Linked DNA regions of Homo sapiens: region 2 is linked to region 1. The links are contacts of gene promoters, found by promoter capture Hi-C in human tissues and cell types (Jung and others, 2019). All regions are on one chromosome and are shown on one strand. Each heading gives the region's core, a stretch centred on a gene start or on the middle of the fragment in contact. The rest is flanking DNA. Distances are from core to core; before and after follow the strand shown.

The links. Contacts are between HindIII fragments. The study calls those that stand out against the background at their distance.
Region 2: a contact is called between a fragment that was not itself captured here and the fragment with the promoter of ADA in region 1, in 1 of the 25 tissues and cell types used here (pancreas).

What each region holds. Positions count from the first base shown.
Region 1 is chr20:44,649,603-44,654,202 of GRCh38, reverse strand. It overlaps ADA (adenosine deaminase), which reads left to right and starts at 2,504. Exons shown (of 12, transcript NM_000022.4): 1 at 2,504-2,628. The coding sequence starts at 2,596. RefSeq lists a silencer at 2,306-2,695 and enhancers at 1,732-2,715, 2,946-3,055. The HindIII fragment of the contact is 13,377 bases long and covers 1-4,600 here.
Region 2 is chr20:43,716,608-43,721,207 of GRCh38, reverse strand. No RefSeq gene overlaps it. Among named protein-coding and RNA genes, the nearest start is that of GTSF1L, 8.1 kb to the left of the region's middle. RefSeq lists a silencer at 593-793. The HindIII fragment of the contact is 4,595 bases long and covers 152-4,600 here.

The sequences.
Region 1 (4,600 bases), core at 1,255-3,754:
CTCCACCTCCCAGGTTCAAGCGATTCTCCTGCCTCAGCCTCCCGAGTAGCTGGGATTACAGTCATACACCACCACGCCTGGCTAATTTTGTATTTTTTTTTTTTTTTTTAGTAGAGACGGGGTTTCACCATGTTGGTCAGGCTGGTCTCAAACTCCCGACCTCAGGTGATCCTCCTGCCTTGGCCTCCCAAAGTCCTGGGATTACAGGCATGAACCACTGCGCCCAGGCTCGGGTATGTCTTCATCAGTAGCATGAAAATAATGGACTAATACAGCCACCCTCTCCCTCACTCCCACATACAACCAAACCCCAAATCCAGCTGATTTTACACCCTAAATGCAGCTTGAATATGAGTTTCTCCACTTCCCCCACTGACATCACTATGCCCTACCCAGACCATGGCAGTTGCCTCCTTCCTGGTATCCTGTCCTCCCTCACCCCCGCTGGCCCCCTGTAATGCCCTCCCCTCACAGCAGGGAGCCCAGGCTTCTCAAAGTGCCCTGTGGGTGCGAACCACCTGGGGGTCCTGTTTGTATAAAATACAGATTCTACTTCAGTAGGTCTGGGATGGGGTCTGAAAGTCTGCATTTGTAGTCAGCTCCCAGGTGATGTGGGTGCTGATGATCCCTGGATCACACTTTCAGTAGCTGGAGAATATTTTTTCCAAATAAAAGGGTGATTTTGTCTCGCCTCCACTTAAAACACTCCACTGACTTCCTAGGAATCCCACACCATCGCTGGGTCCCACATCCCTGGCAGGATTCAGCTCCCATCAGACCTTCTAGCCCCTTGCTCTCCACTCTCCCACTCTCTCTTTCCCCCTTGTTTATGGGTTTGTTAATTTATTTATGATGAAATGAAATGAAGCTACCATCCACCCCAGTACTGGAACATTATCAATAACCTGTGTGTGGCCAGGCGTGGTGGCTCATGCCTGTAATCACGCCTTGGGAAGCCGAGGTGGGTGGATCATGTGAGGTCAGGTGTTCGAGACCAGCCTGGCCAACATGGTGAAACCCCGTCTCTACTACAAATCCAAAACTTAGCAGGGCACGGTGCCACGCGCCTGTAATCCCAGCTACTCGGGACGCTGAGGCCGAGAACTGCTTAAAATCCAGGAGGTGGAGGTTGCAGTGAGCCGAGATTTCGCCACTGCACTCCAGCCTGGGCGACAGAGCAAGAGTCCATCTCAAAAAAACAAAAACAAAAACAAAAAAACAAAAAACAAAAATTAGCCAGGCGTGGTTGTGGGCGCCTATAATCCCAGCTACTCGGGAGGCTGAGACAGGAAAATCGCTTGAAACGCTGGGGGTGCGGGGGAGCGGTGGGGAGGAGGCGGGCCAGAGGGGCAGAGGTTGCAGTGAGCCCAGATCGCGCCACTTCACTGCAGCCTCCGCGAAAGAGCGAAACTCCGTCTCAGTAAATAAATAAATAAATAAATAAATAAATAAATAAATAAATAAATAACCTGTACCCGCGTGTTATTTCCCTCCGTCCTTACCTCCTCCCGGCTCCTTCCCTTTCACCTGAGATAACCACTCTTCTCGTATCTATGCTCATCTTTCCCTTGCTTTACATTTTTTCCACCGATGCATGTGTCTAAACATACATACTTTTGGTTTTGCTTTTACACATTCTAAAAGTTGCACCATTGTATGCAGTTTTCCGCAACTTAGTTTTTTTCACTCAACATTGTTTCTGAGACATTGTTTCTGTTGTTGTCTGGCTGAAGTTCATTCCGTTTCACTGCTGTCTAACGTTTCATGGTGTGAATATTCCGGTTTATTTGCCCACTCGCCCGTGGAGGGGCATTTGAGGGTGTTTCCAATGTTCCTGTTATTCGGAATAGCGCTGGTGTGAACATTCTGCACAGGTCTCTGGCTGCGCCTGGGCGGGTTTCTTAAAGGTGAATGCCCAGGAGGGGACTGTCTGTGTTCTCCCTCCCTCCGAGCTCCAGCCTTCCTCGCCTCCTTTCACTCCCAGCTCCCTGGAGTCTCTCACGTAGAATGTCCTCTCCACCCCCACCCACCCCTGATGAACTCCTGCAGGTTCTGCAGGCCACGGCTGGCCCCCCTCGAAAGTTCCTTAACTATACAATTATGGTGTGTGTTTCTGCGACGAGCGTCCGTCTATCCGGTGGAAGGCACGCCGCTCGAGGCTTGCGATGCTCCCGGGGTCCCCGCTTCTAGCTTGGGCCTGGCGCACAGCAGCGCCCAGACTGCAGGGGGACGCTTGAAAGTTGCTGGAGGAGCCGGGGGGAAGGCAGCGCCCAGCGAGGCGGCTGGAGCGCGCGCCCACAGGTGGGTCCGGTCGGGCGCCGCGGGGCCGTAGTTTTCGGGTCGGCGGGCGAGGACGCCGGGTCCAGAATTCCAGGAAATGCGCGATCCAGGCCGGCGGGCGGGGCGGGGGCTCCGGCGAGAGGGCGGGCCCCGGGAACGGCGGCGGGCGGGGCGGGAGGCGGGGCCCGGCCCGTTAAGAAGAGCGTGGCCGGCCGCGGCCACCGCTGGCCCCAGGGAAAGCCGAGCGGCCACCGAGCCGGCAGAGACCCACCGAGCGGCGGCGGAGGGAGCAGCGCCGGGGCGCACGAGGGCACCATGGCCCAGACGCCCGCCTTCGACAAGCCCAAAGTGAGCGCGCGCGGGGGCTCCGGGGACGGGGGTCCGGCGCCTGGGCGGCCCGAGGGGCTTAGCGGGGCCCAGCCCGGGGCGTCCAAACCCTGGGAACGAACGGGGGCTCCTGCAGGCGAGTTCTTCCTTCGGCTTAGGCCGTGGCTTGCTTGCGGGCTAATCAGGGACAATGGGGCAGAGAAGGTCCAGAACCCGGAGGCCTCCAGAGTCTGCTTCTGCCCCTGACTTGACCCCTCTGGGTCTCAGTTTCGCTGTCTGTCAAGTGGGCATCCTAGCACCGCTGAGCGCTGTGTGGGCCTGGGCAGGGACTTGAGGTCTCTGAAGCTCAGCTGTATGATCAGGCCCGATGTCTACGCCGGATAGGCACCTAGTGCTGTGCCCGGCGCCTACTGAGTGCTCAGTGAATGGAAGCAGCTTTGTACGCCAGCGTTATGGTGGTGAGCGCCAAGGAGCTCAGGTTTGTGGATGCGCCCCGGGGAAGAACCGTGAGCCCTGCCAGAAAGGGGAGGGAGGGGAGCAGAGCACCCCCCTTCCCCCGCGCGGGAAGAACAGGAGCTAGGTAGGCCCTGGGTTTGGGGCCCTAGCAGGGTTCACTCGAGGCCAAGCCATGGCCACTGGCCCCAGGGGAGAATCCCCTTGTTTCTCCGCCCACCAGCTGTGGCGTCTTGGGACTGTTGGGGTCAGGGAGGGTCTGGACCCCCTTGGCCTGTCGCAGAGTCCGAGAGGAGGGGCCCAGGAGTCTGCCAAGCAGGGTGAGTCAGCCAGTAGGGTGTGAGAGTGGTTGGGGAAGGAGTCAGCTGCAGTCAGCCTCAACTTACCCTTCTAAGAAATAGGTGTGAGTGGCCCAGGAGGTTGGCTCACGCCTGTAATCCCAGCACTTTGTGAGGCTGAGGCGGGAGGATCATTTGAGTCCAGGAGTTTGAGACTAGCCTGGACAACAAAACTAGACCCCGTCTCTCCAAAAAATAAAAAAAGTTAGGGGAAGTGTGTGTGGTGGTGCACTCCCGTAGTCCCAGCTACTCAGGAGGCTGAGGCGGGAGGATCGCTTGAGCCCAGGAGGTTGAGGCTGCAGTGAGGTGTGATGGTGCCACTGCACTTCAGCCTGGGAGACAGAGCGAGACCCTGTCTCAAAAAAAAGAGAAGAAAAAGAAAAGAAAAGAAATAGGTGTGAATGATGATGACAGCTATCACAAAAGTGCCGGTGAGAATCCAGTGAGTGTGCATGTGTCAGTGAGGGAGACAGGCTGTGGAGAGCCCACCTACCTTCTGAGGAGGGTGAGGCCTGGCCCCCACTACTGATGCCCCCAGCCCAGGGAAAATGCTCAGCTACTCCCCGTCAGAAGCTGGAAGCACTGAGGTGCTGTACAAGCCCTCCTACCCCCACCCCTGCCTCCTTCACGTCTTACTGGAGCTGGGGCCCATGATTGGCGCCTCCCCTTTGCAGTCTTTTTATTAAATGCTCTGGGCTCCCTCTGCCCTTGGGCTGGGGACCCACTGTACCCTGATGTGAATCCTATGGCAATAGCAAAGCTCTTTGATTGGCGGGGTGCAGTGGCTCACGCCTATAATCCCAGCACTTTGGGAGGCAAAGGTGGGTGGATCATGAGGCCAGGAGTTCGAGACCAGCCTGGCCAACATGGCAAAACCCCATTTCTACTAAAAATATAAAAAATTAGCTGGGCATGGTGGCGGGCGCCTGTAGTCCCAGCTACGCAGAAGGCTGAGGCAGGAGAATGGCATAAACCCAGGAGGTGGAGCTTGCAGTGAGCCGAGATCTCGCCATTGCACTCCAGCCTGGGTGACAGAGTGAGACGCTGTCTCAAAAAAAAAAAAAAAAAAAAAAAGGCTCCTTGATTGCGAACATGTTGGGAGTTATGGAGAGAACAGCAGGGCCCACTTCTAGAGCACTTGTTGCAGACACCCATTGGATCCTTGCAGTTCTTCTGTAACAGCCCATCAAGGGAGGGGCTCA
Region 2 (4,600 bases), core at 1,200-3,699, 930 kb after region 1:
GCTGAGAGTTAACACTGCAGACCATCTGCCTACAGACAGAAGTTACTCACTGAGGGTCTCCTGTGAACTGTTGTAACACTCAATAAAGTTTCTCTTAATCATGTTCACCTTCCACCTGTCTGCGTACCTCCTGGACACAGGACAAGAACTCGGGTAAAGGTGCCATCAGCCACAGATGTTTCTGGCCAGAAAAGTGACAACCCAAAGAGCCCATAACAGTATGACACAGAGGATGGCATGGAATGGGGCATACTAAAATGCCAGACTTGCTGTCCAGGATTGGGCTCAAGTCCTGACTCAACCACTGTCTACCATCTTCCCTCCCAGCACTCACCTGAAACGTGGGCACTAATTTCTCCTTTGCAGGGTATATTGTGTGTAACAAAGAAATGAGAAACATGTAAAAACATACTAAGTAATAACATACTAAGAGCCCATGTTATCTGAGCACCAAGTATGTGCCATATTCTTCCCAATCCCTTCAACAAGTCTGAAGTTGAAGGATTCTCCCTATTTTACAGCCAAGGAGCCAAGGCTCAGTGCATTGAAGAGACACACAGCTCCCAAGAGCTAAGCTGGGTTTACACCCAAGTCTGTCTGATCCAAAGTAAGAGCTCTACCCAGGACTGCAGGAGGACCTGGGAGAGTCTGCCAGATGCCATGAGCCATATCTCTCCCCACTGCCTTCAGCTCTGGGGAACAAGACACAGGTATGGTCACAGTGGCTTTGAACTCCAGAATCCTTCACCCCATTCATTTCCCGCAAAGTTCCTGGAACCCTAGGTCTCCTGTTTCTCCCCAACCCTGATGAGCCCATGGCTCAGTGTTGATTTTCCTCAGTGATACACCAGGGTCTGCTGAAAAAGTGGCTAATTAAGACTCCCAAACTACTCCTGGCCTATCAAAACTGCTCCTGCCCCAGTCCCTGCCTTGCTCTGAGAAGGACATTTTATCTTTATCCTGGACCACCTTAAGTACTCACATGTCCCAGTTCCTCATGCCAGCATCTCTATCAGTCAGCTTCTGCTGTGTAACAAACCATCCTCAATCTTAGGGCTTAAAGCAATACTGATTTATTATTCTCATGACTTTGTGATCAGATGGGCAGTTCCTCCAGTCTGGGCCAGATCAGGTGAGGCTGGATGGTTTAGGGTGGCCTTACTCACGTCTGGAGTCTCAACCAGAACAGCTAGAATTCTCACCTCCTTCAGCAGATTCTCCCAGAGTCCCTCAGGGGCAAAGTCAACCACATGACCCACTCATGGGAATAGCTACAGGGAGCAGTGATCCCTAGGGAGCCATTGCTGGAACAATCTACCACAGCCTCTATATCTGTGAGCCTCTCACCTCCAGGCCATGCTGGTCACCAAATGCCAGACAATCATCTGGATCTTGCCAGAATGGCAGATTCACCCTCTGCCATTTTTTTTTTCCAAGATAGTTTTGCTCTTGTTGCCCAGGCTAGAGTAAGTGCAATGGTGCGATCTTGGCTCACCGCAACCTCCGCCTCCTGGGTTCAAGCGATTCTTCTGCCTCAGCCTCCAAAGTAGCTGGGATTACAGGCATGCGCCACCATGCCCGGCTAATTTTGTATTTTTAGTAGAGACGGAGTTTTTCCATGTTGGTCAGGCTGGTCTCAAACTCCCGACCTCAGATGATCTGCCTGCCTCGGCCTCCCAAAGTGCTGGGATTACAGACATGAGCCACCACGCCCAGCCTCCCTCTGCCATCTTAACTAAGCCTCATCTTTCCCTCCTGCCTGTCCCTCTCCCAGGCTGACCGCAGCACCCCCACTCCTGTACTACCATCCTGAACTCAGGCCCTCTGCCCCTCAGCGCTATCTGGCTAACTCTTTCTTGCTTGCCACACTAGCCTGGGAAACATCAGGCCTGGATCAATCCTCATGACCAAGTTCCCCAAACTCCTGATCAAACAGCAGCTGGGCCCCCAGCACCTCCTGAGTGGCAACCAATCTGCCTTCCCATGTGGGCTCTCCCTGTCCCCATGATGGCCAGGAGCTGTCAAATCTGACTCCTCCCCACTTTCTCTGAGCAGATGACTGGCCTCACGGTACCCCCTGCTTTACTTCAAAGTTCCCTCTGGCACATTTTATATCAATTGGTTGGTTTATATCTGTCTGCTTTTTAGAATTTAAGCTCCATGGCCGGGCGCAGTGGCTCACGCCTGTAATTCCAGCACTTTCGAAGGCTGAGGCACGCGGATCACAAGGTCAGGAGATCGAGACCATCCTGGCTAACACGGTGAAACCTTGTCTCTACTAAAAATGCAAAAAAAAAATTAGCCGGGCATGGTGGTGGGTGCCTGTAGTCCCAGCTACTCGGGAGGCTGAGGCAGGAGAATGGTGTGAACCCAGGAAGCGAAGCATGCAATGAGCCAAGATCGCACCACTGCACTCCAGCCTGGGCAACAGAGCAAGACTCCATCTCAAAAAAAAAAAAAAAAAAAAGAATTTAAGCTCCATGAGAATAAGGTAGTTTTTTGGTTTTTGTCTTTTGAGATAGGGTCTTGCTTTGTCACTCAGGCCGGAGTAGAGAGGCACAACCACAGCTCAAGAGATCCTCCCACCTCAGCTTCCTGAGTAGCTGGGACTACAGGCATGAGCCATCATGCTATCATGCTAAGTTTTTAAAATTTTTTGTAGAGATGGGGTTTCACCATGTTGCCCAGGCTGGTCTCAAACTCCTGGGCTCAAGTGATCCTCCCACCTCAGCCTCCTAAAGTACTAAATTACAGGCATGAGCCACCACACCTGGCCTGGTTTCTATCCTTTACTGCTATATCTTCAGCACTACAACTATGCCAGACATGTGGGGGTAGGGTTGGAGGGTCCCTCAATAAATGTGGTTTTGTTTTTGTTTTTGAGACAGTGTCTCCCTCTGGTTGCCCAGGCTGGAGTGCAGTGGAATGATCTCAGCTCACTGCAGCCTCGACCTCCTGGGCTCAGGTGATTCTCCCACCTCAGCCTCTCGAGGAGCTGGGACTAAAGGCACATGCCACCATGCCCAGCTAATTTTTTCTATTTTTTTTTTAGTAGACAGAGGGTTTCATGATGCTGCCCAAGCTTATCTCAAACTCCTAGACTCAAGCAATTTGGCCTCCTCGGCCTCCCAAAGTGTTGGGATTACAGGCGTGAGCCACCATACCCGGCCTAGTATTTATTTAATGCATGAACCAAAGAACAAGCCCACAGCACACAGAGCTCAGTGAGGATGGTATGTTAAGCTTGCTGTTACCTGCAGCCACTCTGTTCTTTACAGCCTCCTCCCTCCAGGACAGGAAAGGGCCTGAGGGCAGTCCCTGGGAATGAGCAAGACCTCAGGCAAGAGAGGGCATGGGGTACAAGCCCCTGGAGCCTCACAGGCGTCAGCTCAGAGTGTAGCCAGTCAACGCCCTGCATGTGAATAACCCACTGGTGGTTTGTTAAAAATCCCTTTTTGCAGGCTCCACCCCAGGTACCTGACTCAGAGGGCCCAGGAATTTTCATCATTAGCCTGCAGCGCACTGCATTTGAGTTTGACAAAGTTGTTCCACCGAGTCTTGGTGTGAGCTATAGGAGACAAGGTAATGCAGCCTCCATCCTCACCGTGGGGCACAGGTCATCCACCTTGGGTGACCAAGGACTGTAGGGAGCGGCCAGTGACAGACCTTGGGGAAGAAGTTGGGGAGGGGATAGGCTCCATGCTGACAAATCACAAAAGCTCAGGGCGTGAGTTAGGTGTGGTTCATCCATGGAACCTGCAGGTGCATGCAGCCCAGCCACATGGGCTGCGGGGTGCGGGGTGCAGGGTGGGAAGCACAGAGCCCCCGCCCCTCCTCGGCTTTAGATCAAGAACTGGGACACTGCCAGGACCAAGCACGGCATGCCTGCATGTGAATGGACAGGAGTAGGGGGACTGTAGGCGGGAGCTCAGCAGGGAGAAAGGGGTGTGTCTGAGGCCAGACACATCTGAACTCTGGCACCCTAATTAACTCAGTCCCCATCCCTCTAGAGTTGGCCGCATCTCTTGCCCCAGGTGAGGACCTGCCCCAAGTCTGCTCAACCTCTGCCCACAGGGATGTTCATGTGCCTGTCCCATGAAGCCTGCTGCTGAAAACATCAATTCCTCATTTAGACATTCTCAGACTTGGCATCTTCCCCTCTTCAATCCCCAGTGACTCTTCCCAACCACCTGCCAAGCACTGTGCTCTGTAGCCACAACCCTAGGGATTTAGGGCCACAAGGGCAGAGGCTCTGGCCCATCCTGGCCTCCTGCTCAGCCTTGGCCAATGGGGCTAGAGGGTTCTGCCCAGCTGCCTTCACCCCTCTTCCTTGCTTACTGGTCTGACCTGGGGGCCACGCTCAGCTTGAGGCAGGGGCTTGTTAATGGGCAGGTGAGCCACCCAAGGCAAGGGCCAGGCAAGGCCCTACTGCACCAACCCATCGTCCTCCTCCGCCCCCAGTCTCTGCCCACCCCCGCCCAACCCCATGGCTATTAATACTCAGAGCTTTGCAGAGATGCCCACTGGGTGCAGAGACGAGAGAAATTGCTCTCATCTCATTGTGCCCCTCTGTGGAAACAGGGTCAAGGGCTCAGGCCTG